Regions from separate parts of the Homo sapiens genome. Here region 2 is linked to region 1. Evidence: promoter capture Hi-C in human tissues and cell types (Jung and others, 2019). All regions are on one chromosome and are shown on one strand. The core of a region is centred on a gene start or on the middle of the fragment in contact, and the rest is flanking DNA. Distances in the headings are between cores, read along the strand shown. Region 1 holds the start of ANKRD50 (ankyrin repeat domain containing 50). Region 2 has its middle 86 kb from the start of FAT4.

What was found. The method cuts DNA at HindIII sites, captures the fragments that hold promoters and counts their contacts. A contact is called where the count stands out against the background at its distance.
Region 2: a contact is called between a fragment that was not itself captured here and the fragment with the promoter of ANKRD50 in region 1, in 1 of the 25 tissues and cell types used here (H1 embryonic stem cells).

Annotation. Positions count from the first base shown.
Region 1 is chr4:124,709,322-124,713,981 of GRCh38, forward strand. It overlaps ANKRD50 (ankyrin repeat domain containing 50), which reads right to left and starts at 3,411. Exons shown (of 5, transcript NM_020337.3): 1 at 3,137-3,411; 2 at 679-1,953. The coding sequence starts at 1,190. RefSeq lists enhancers at 2,819-3,384, 3,385-3,950 and silencers at 2,898-3,137, 3,288-3,667. The HindIII fragment of the contact is 11,202 bases long and covers 456-4,660 here.
Region 2 is chr4:125,225,919-125,231,060 of GRCh38, forward strand. No RefSeq gene overlaps it. Among named protein-coding and RNA genes, the nearest start is that of FAT4, 86 kb to the right of the region's middle. The HindIII fragment of the contact is 5,504 bases long and covers 1-4,487 here.

The DNA.
Region 1 (4,660 bases), core at 2,161-4,660:
CTCACTTCCTGGACCAATCCATTTACCATGGAAAAAAAGCTTTGCTGAAGTTAGGAAAAAACACTTTCTTTGTACCACTCACTAAAAGTAAAAGTAGTAAGATGATCCCAAATGTTCGCTATTTTATAAATTCACATACTTCTAAATACCAGTTTTTCAATTAGTTAGTTAATAGGAGAATAAATCCCAAAACTCATCAGCAAATTTTCTTCAGATTCTCAGTGGCCAATAATCTCCTTTAAAGAAAACCTTTCTTACTTAAAAAAATACTACTACTATAAGGAAAAAAATAAAAAGATACTAGATGCTATACTGATAATTACTCTAAGTTCAGTTCACCCTCTGAAAATGTAACCTATTTCCAGACAGCTAAATGTGCTTCTCTACCATAAGAACAAATTTCCCTTACCATTTATAGGCAATGTAAGTAACATTATGTTATTAAGTAAAATTAAGATACACTTTTAATCCATTTTAATCCATATGCTGTGCAATACCAAAACCTAAATTTTACTTCCTTTGATATTCAAAGTAAACAGGTATACTCATAACTTCAGATTAAGGCCAAATGTACAGCACCAGTAAAAGTAACCCACAAAGTTAAAACAAAAAACTACAACTAAAAATTAATTTAATTTCAGCATAGAAATCTGAACACCATGACATTTTTATTGTTACCTTTTAAATGCTTCGGCTGGGTTTCTCTCGCACTCCCCAGGCTGTAAGAGGCTTTGGACTGCTGGATCCCTTAGCTTGTCCTCATATCCTTGGAGTAGTCCACTGCGGCAGATCTGGGCTACTAGACCTCTAATAAACCCTCCAACACACAAAGTATCAGAGTCCTGGGCTTTGCAGAAATGAAAGGCCAAAGCTTGGCGATGTAAACCTCTCTGCAAACTTGCAGGTGAACTTGGCCATAAGAGTTCAGTACATAGGGCCGTCTTGCCACTGCCAGGCCCTCCTACCAACAACACACCCCAGGCAGCTCCCTTTCCAGAGACACCACTAGCATTATTCCCAGAATTCATTACAAGTGATGGTGCATTGACAGCACTATTGCAGCAGTTACTTTTCTCCTGGAGGCAATGCTGAAGCTTGTGGAAAACCCACTCCCTACAGTAAAACTGCTTCCCTTGCAGTAAACTGGTTTGAGCCATTTTGCAGACTTTCTCTTCCCAAGGATTAGTCATAACGGGTTTTTTATCTTCATTTGCTAGAGTCTGGATACATCAACACAGGTCTTTCCATCCATTATGACATAACTTGTATATTAAGTTGACTCTGAAGACAGAGTAACTAGTTACAGTAAAATTCAACAGCCACAGAGTTCCTCTGTCAACAGAACGTGCATGACTTTATTTGGTTCCTTATTCTTGATCAGCAGTCTATGTATTAGTTGTTGAACTGAGGGAGAAACGCCTGATTCCACAGCTCAGCAACACTTTTCCTAAATTTTAATGAGTCACATAACTCCATGGTTATAACTGGAGTTTATGTGATTGTGGATGTTTCAAGAACAGAGATGAGACAATACATGTGGAAAACTAAAGAAAAAACCCAATCTTTCAATTTGTACAAAATGCTTCTCCAGATTCCAAGTGTTAATTCTGCATCTGACAATTAGATTCTGAAAAGAGGTCCACTGCATTAAATGGCATCAGAGAGATTACATTTATACGGTATGAGGTACAGTATGTAAGTAGCTCTGTATTTCTCGTTGAAGGATGATCACTCAAGAGTACTAGATCGTGCCAGTTTCAGGCATCTGGGCAACTGCCAGGAACTGTTTCAGATTATAGTCTCTTATGTGGCAGAAATGACAACCACTGTTAACACCTTCTTAATTCAAAGCATTCATAATATGCATTTTTCAAGACAGCAGATTCTTAATGAACCTGTTCACAGGTTTCTTGGTTTTAAGACGTCCGGGTAATCAACAATTTCCACAAGTAACTAAAATAAAACAAACAAAAATACCTCAGTGCAAAATATCATATGTTAAAAACTTATTAAGGACAATAAAGGTTGCAGTGTACCAGTTAACGTAATCTCAAAAATCCACGTACTTCACCTTTGGCACTTTCAAAAAGTTGGACAAAAACCACTGAAATAATCACATTCTCCCTTCTGCATTTTTCTTCCTCATTGTTATGCTTCCCAAACAGCCACATTTTAATCAAGTTACCCAAGATTTTTGCAACTTCACCATAGCAAAGGAGGGGGGGAGAAACTTTACGCACATACAGTAACACCCTTAACTCCAGGCAAAACGCTCATTCACAGTAGACTGGTAGAACAGCGCCAGCTAAGGAAGCTCTATTAACTTACACAGTCCAGTCAGTCAAGGACTGTCTACTCCTCCAGCCACACTTCTTTGTTGATAATGTGCAAAAATCTAGGGGAAGATTACCAGGGTTGCAGCTGGATGGGAAACGGTTTAAAAAAAAAAAACAAAAACGATGGGGGATGACTGTTCTTATAAGAATGATAAAGCAAACACAAGTAAAATGTGAATCCTTCCTTCCTCTGGGCCAAGGATGGAGGTCAGGGATAAAATCTACCAGTCTGGCCGGAGAAAAGGCTGCTAGAGAGAAATTCCTTCCAAGACAGGAAAGGGATAAAGAGTAGAGTGCTTCGGTGCTGGTGGGTGTCTGCCCACAGGTCCGGCCTCCAGTTTCAGCTGACAGACAAAAGGAACTCCGGGATTCCCAGCGCCGGGCACCACCTTGGGTTGGAACCGCCCAGAGGAGCCACAGGGGAGCCACCTCAGAGAGGCCACGAGCGAAGGTGCAGCCTCCACACCGAGGTCTGCCCTTCCAGAGGCTGGGAGCGCCTCTGCACCCCGCCCCGCACCGAGATTGGGGTGTGTCTTTTGAAGGGGGAGGGGGTGACTGAGGTCCTTGCCAATCCCAGACGAGGGGTCGCCTCCCGGTCGGCTTCCGCCTCTGCGCTCCCGCCCCATGCCCCGCTCCCGCTCCCACCCGGCCGACGGCGGTGCGAGGGAAGAGGGCAAATCTGGGGCTCGAGGCCGGAGAGGGTGGGTGGTTGGGTCAGGTCCAAGCCACGGCCTCGGCCTCCCAGCTTCCAACCCGAGGGAGGGGCCTCGCTTCCACCGCCGCCGCCGCCCCCCGGTTACCTCGGCCCCAGCCGCCGCCGTGGCCGCCGCTGCCGCTGTTAGGGACTCTCAGTCTCAGACACTTGCTTCGCTGAGAAGTCGCTGCCAGCAGCGCTCCCAAGACTCCACTCCAACTGCAGCCGCCTCCTCCGCCGGGCCCGGGGCACGCTCCCAGCTCCGGATCCTCCTCTTGGCCCCCGGCGGCTGCCAGTTCCAGCTTTCCCAGCAGAATCGGTCGTGCTCGCCCCAGCCCCCACCGGCCAACCGCCGCCGCCGCCGCCGTCAGGGCAGTAACTGTCTCAGGCAGCCCCCGGCCGGCCGGCTCCGCCCCGCCCGCCCAGCCCAGACCCCGCCCCCGCCCCCGCCCCCGCCCCGCCGCTCGGCCTTTCTTTGCCCGCCGGCTCCGCCTCCGCGTCCTTCCCCTCCCCCACCGCGCTCTCCCGCAGCATCCCGTGCCTGGGCGTGTGCGGCCGCCTGGGACCCGCTGCCGGCGCGGCGGGGAGACCTGTCTCGGGGCGGCGTGGGGGCCCCGCCTTTCTCAGGGGAGGCGGAGAACGGGGCGGGGGCTGCGTTCTCACGTCTCCGAGCTCACGCGAGTCGTTGCCCCCACCCTCCCCGTCACCACTGGGCCCTGATCCTTCCTTTGTCTTCCAGGCCGGAGGGACTCGCCGGCTGTTGGTGCCGTATCTGCTCCTGGGAGGGGCAGTTGGGTAGGGGGAGATTGCCTCTTGCCTCTCTCTGCTCAACCCTTTTGCCTCTCCCTTAACCCCGTTGCTTCCAAAGCCACTTCGGGCCCCGTTCTACCCCTCAGTCGTCCGGTCTCCTTTCAGTCCATTAAATTCCAGGGATGCTTTTACTTTGGCTGGGACGAAGAGAAGGAAGGAAAAGACTGGGAAGAATGTTGCGAAAATAGAAATAGTGGGGGTATACAGCGACATTCCTACCAGCCTCATGAAAAGGACGTGGCCTCCATCAGATGGAGGTTGACAGCAGGCTTGACTGGGTCTCAGGCCCCTGCTCCTCAGGGCCACTTGATCACCCGCAGCGTCCACTAGGGGGGAAGGTCTTGGTCATGTGGCGTCAGGAAATGCCCTAGAGGGCCTGCTCACAGGGGCCTGTTGGACTAAGCATGTCAGTTGTTTGCACTTACTGGACCTGAGTTGCTTAGATTCCAAATTTCTCCCGGGAAAATAAGTATACCGTCAACTGATGGAATAGGAAATGTAGCATTTTTTATTTTAATTGTTTATGCTAAAATCCAGAGTGCTCTATTTCCCATTCCTCATTAACTTGCATGTGGTTATTTGCCAAAATATTAAGCCAGTCTCCCATCTAGTTTTAGAAATTTCATAGTATAGCTATCACAATAAGAAAGATGGATAAACAAATAGATCGTGTTTGTGCTTACTCTTTCATATTGTTTATTCGTGCCAATTGAGGTTTACTGATCTTAGTATTTAATTTTAATTCATGTACCCTGAATTTTGGGCTTCTTTCCTAAAACACAAGCAAAAGAGGCAGAGTATAAATTCTCCAGAATTAGGG
Region 2 (5,142 bases), core at 486-2,985, 510 kb after region 1:
TCTGAAAGAAAGTGATAAGCTCTACAGTTGAACAGCATGGAATGCACTAGGAGGAATGAAACAGTTCACTCACCATGACCCTAGGATAATTCCATGGTTAGTGGCTTGCTCAGAGATGAGAATGGTGAACACTGTGAAACTTTATGGCATTATGAAACTGCTTTCCCAATTCAACTCTAGAACATTACGAACTTGGCCTCTCAAAGCTTCGATTTATTTACTTTTATAAATGGAGATAGAAATAATAATATAGTGGATGACACACAGTATGTAAGAGAGCTTCATGTAGTGGCTAGAAAAGAGTTTACCCTAAATAAGTGGTTGCAGTAGTTATAGGAGTAACTAGATCTTCTTAAAAAGGTATTTCTCTTAAAGAAATACTTATATTAACAGGCTGTGAGTTGAAGACCTAGCAAATATCCACCAAGGTACGCCAAAGGAAATAAACTAATTTTTTAAAAGTTTCCCACTAAGCTAATATTTATTGAATGCTTTTTTTTATGCCAAACGGTGCACTCAGTGAATAAAACAAATATCTTGCCCTTTCGTAGCTTTCAACTAGGAAGAACATAATAAGTAACCAATAAATGAGTTATAAATGCCCAAATTCTAGGAAGGCCACTGATACTTCTGAAAGCATAATAGAAGGAGGCTATATTTACTATCTTTACTTTCCTCATTCAGTGAGGAAGAAGTAAATAAGTAACCAATAAATTGCTTATAAATGCCCAAATGCATTGAAGGATACTGATACTCCTGAAAGAGTAATAGGAGGAGGCTATTCTACTAATCAAGATTGTTCTTGATTACTAAGCATAATCAAGGAATATCTCTGAAGAGGTGATATTTAAACTGTGTCCAGCAATATGACAATCGCCTAACTGTAATTAGTTAAATAAAAGCCCTTAAAATAACAGCAATTATATATACAAAGTCCCCAAAAAGAGACATAGCTAGGACATTCAAGAAGTAAATGAGGCCCATGTAGCTGGAAGGTGGAGAGAGGGAAACTGATATGAGGCTGGGCAAATGAGAATGGGTCAGGCCATACAGGTTCCTATACACCAATATTATAAATTCAGATTTTCTCTGAAAAAAAATAGGAAGACACTGAAAAATTTTAATAGAGTATGCTGTCTCCAATTTCTGTATATTTGTGTGTGTGTGGGTGTGAGTGTGTGAATATTATTTTATAATTGTTTAAAGATTGACTTGAATAAGCAATAGAGGAAGAAGGTGGAGACAAGCAGAAGTAACTAGGGTCACCCTGGAGAAGACAGAAAGAAATGTACAGATGCGAGATATATTTTAGAGAAAGAATTGACAGATTTGATGGATTAGATGTGGGGGTTAAAATAAAAAGAAGAACTAAATAGAAAGGATGATAGTAATATATGCTCAAGTACAGTTAATGAGGTTTTATGGGTAAAAGCAGAAATTCTGTTTTAGGATTTTAATTTTGAGAACTTAGCCTGACATCCAAGTGAAAATTTCAAGTGCACAATGATCTGAATCCAGATTGCAGATATACACTTGGAATCATCAAACCACAGATAGTGTCCAAAAGCATGGATTTAGGAGAGCTCCCCACAGGACAGGGTATGCAGTGGAGTAGAAAGACCTGGAACTGAGTCCTGAGAAACTGCTGATGGGGCCGAGGGGAAAGGCTCACAGGACGAGTGGCCAGAGAGTTAGAAGAAAAACTAGAAGGAAATGGTGTCATGGAATCTGAAAGAGGATTTTGTGTTCCAGTAGGACAGTATGGTGAATCTGGCCAAACGCTGTCCAGGAGACCAAGAAGCATGAGGATGAAAGAGAAACATACTCACTTTGGCAGCATGCAAAGCAGTTGTGACAAGTTCAAGTCATGGAGGAATCCAGATGGACTCCCATGTGGCTCAGGCTCATGTTAGTGACCCAATTAAAGATATAATCAAGCTGCCAAAAGCCATTAATGACAAGTCTTGAAATACATTTATATAAGAATATTAAAGGATATCCAATTCATAACCCCAAAGTAAAAAGTCCTTAACTTCCCATATTCTCTCCTTTTTCATCCTCTCACACATCTGAACTTTCACTTCCTCCAAATCCCCACATTTGCTCCTTTTCTATCTCCATTATTTTCTGAATTCTAATGTATAAAGTTAAAAATCTCAGATTTTTTGTTGAATTTTTTAGTGGTTTTGTTTTACTTTTCCTATGCTTTGATTTTATTCTCTTTTTTTTGTAATAAGCAAAGGTCTGGGAAATATCCCAGCAAACAAAACCACAGTCTTTCAAATGATCTCTACAGCCTTATCTTTCTCTGCCTACATTTTCTACCTTGTCACTAACATTTTGGGACTTAGGCTGGCAAAAGCAGACCTTTCCTCACAAAACAACGAGAAGATGGTGGAACAAAGAGCTAGGGTGCAAAGCAAAAATTAACATCAGAATGCAGAAGGTGGAAGAGAGGAAATAGAAAAGGTGTAAATGTGTGTATGTTAATAAATGTTGTTCCTTGTCACAGACCATCACAGAGATTTATCATTCATAGTGATCCACCTAGCAAAAAGCACCAATGTCAAAGTGTCTTAAAAAAGCCACCTTATTTGCCAAATTCAATGAGAGAAGAAATATATGACCTTTTTAAAATAACTCATTCCATTTGAGACCAAAAAATAGCTTGTTACAAGAACACTTGTACAGTTTAAGAAAGAGGAGTATATTTAGGCAGTGTTGCACCAACTCAAAAGTTAGATATAAAGCATTTAAAATATATACTAAAGAAAAGCACCCTGAGATTTGGTTTTCACTTTCAGGTATGCTCAAGAATGTTAAAATTCTCAGAGGCAATGAGAAGCCACGCTTCCTTGGAATGTGATCCACGGCCATAAATAAATGAGGTTTACTCAGTGTGTCTGGACTGGGTGGGTTCTTGGTCTCACTGACTTCAAGAATGAAGCGGCAAACCCTCGGGGTGAGTGTTACAGCTCTTAAGGTGGCACGTCTGGAGTTCGCTCTTTCTGACGTTCAGATGTGTTCAGAGTTTCTTCCTTCTGTTGGGTTCGTGGTCTCACCGGCTCAGGAGCGAAACTGTAGACTTTCACGGGGAGTGTTACAGCTCTTAAGGCAGCGCCTCTGGAATTGTTCGTTCCTGCCGGTGGGCTCGTGGTCTCACGAGTCAATCTGCAGACCTTCATGGTGAGAGATACAGCTCATAAAAGCAGTCTGGACCCAAAGAGCAAGCAGCAGCAAGATTTATTGCAAAGAGCAAAAGAACAAAGCTTCCACGGTGTGGAAAGGGACCTCAGCAGATTGCCACTGCTGGCTGGGGCAGCCTGCTTTTATTCTCTTATCTGGCCCCACCCACATCCTGCTGATTGGTAGAGCCAAGTGGTCTGTTTTGACAGGGTGCCGATTGGTGTATTTACAATCCCTGAGCTAGACATAAAGGTTCTCCAAGGCCCCACCAGAGTAGCTAGATACAGAGTGTCCATTGGTGCATTCACAAACCCTGAGCTAGACACAGGGTGCTGATTGGTGTATTTACAATCCCTGAGCTAGACATAAAGGTTCTCCACTTCCCCACCAGACTCAGGAGCCCAGCTGGCTTCACCCAGTGGATCCCGCACTGGGGCTGCAGGTGGAGCTGCCTGCCAGTCCCGCGCAGTGTGCCCGCACTCCTCAGCCCTTGGGTGGTTGATGGGACTGGGTGCCGTGGAGCAGCGGGTGGCACTCATCGGGGAGGCTGGGGCGCACAGGAGCCCGTGGAGGAGTGGAAGGCTCAGGCATGGCGGGCCGCAGGTCCAGAGCCCTGCCCCGCGGGAAGGCAGGTAAGGCCCACGAGAAATTGAGCGCAGCGCCGGTGGGCTGGCACTGCTGGGGGACCAGTACACCCTCCGCATCCGCTGGCCCGGGTGCTAAGCCGCTTATTGCCTGGGGCCGGCAGGGCTGGCCGGCTGCTCCGGCCGGCTGCTCCGAGTGCAGGGCCCGCCAAGCCCACGCCCACCCGGAACTCCAGCTGGCCCGCAAGCGCCGTGCGCAGCCGGTTCCCGCTCGCGCCTCTCCCTCCACACCTCCCTGTAAGCTGAGGGAGCCGGCTCCGACCTTGGCCAGCCCAGAAATGGGCTCCCACAGTGCAGTGGTGGGCTGAAGGGCCCCTGAAGTGCCACCAAAGTGGGAGCCCAGGCAGAGGAGGCGCCGAGAGCGAGCAAGGGCTGTGAAGACTACCAGCACGCTGTCACCTCTCAATAGGACTCCAGAACACCAGCCTCTAAACACCAACTAATTGCTAAAAATAGTAAGTGGAGTAAACAGTGCATAATTACGAATTTAAACTCACATTGTATTAAATCTCCTATTTTGACACTTCATTAGAAATATCATATTGGCCAAACCACAGATCTAAAATATTTATAGTTTGATTTTTCTCATTTTACAAATAAGACAATTAAGACATTAAAAATCAGTGTCTTCACTAAGAAAATGAATTTGTTAGACTGGAAAACTGTTGCAAATGTTCAGCTATTCCTTAATGTAATAAAACAAAGTTGACTGGTGAAAAAGAAAAGCTGAAACACTGAAATTTTAGATGATGATTACATTCATATAGTCTTTATAAATAGTCCTCTGGAAAGTAGGGGAGGTCTGGATTTGATATTCTTCTCCACATTATGAGAAAAATAGAAAATAATGCAGCCCTATGGATAATCCAGATATTGAATTAGACAGTTAAACAGTTTTAAATATTTATCACTGATATATTTCATAAATATATTTTCTAAGATATTACATATAGAGAAAAAGATGTACAAAACAGATGAAAAGATTAAAAATTTCAACAAAGAATTAAAATCTATAAAAATAAATAAATGAGCATCTTAGAACTGAAAAATACAGGCCGGGTGCGGTGGCTCATGCCTGTAATCCCAGCACTTTGGGAGGCCGAGGCGGGCGGATCACAAGGAGATCCAGACCATCCTGGCTAACACGGTGAAACCCCGTCTCCACTAAAGAATACAAAAAATTAGCCGGGAGTGGTAGCAGGCGCCTGTAGTCCCAGCTACTCGGGAGGATGAGGTAGGAGAATGGCGTGAACCCGGGAGGCAGAGCTTGCAGTGAGCCGAGATTGCGCCACTGCACTCCAGCCTGGGCAAC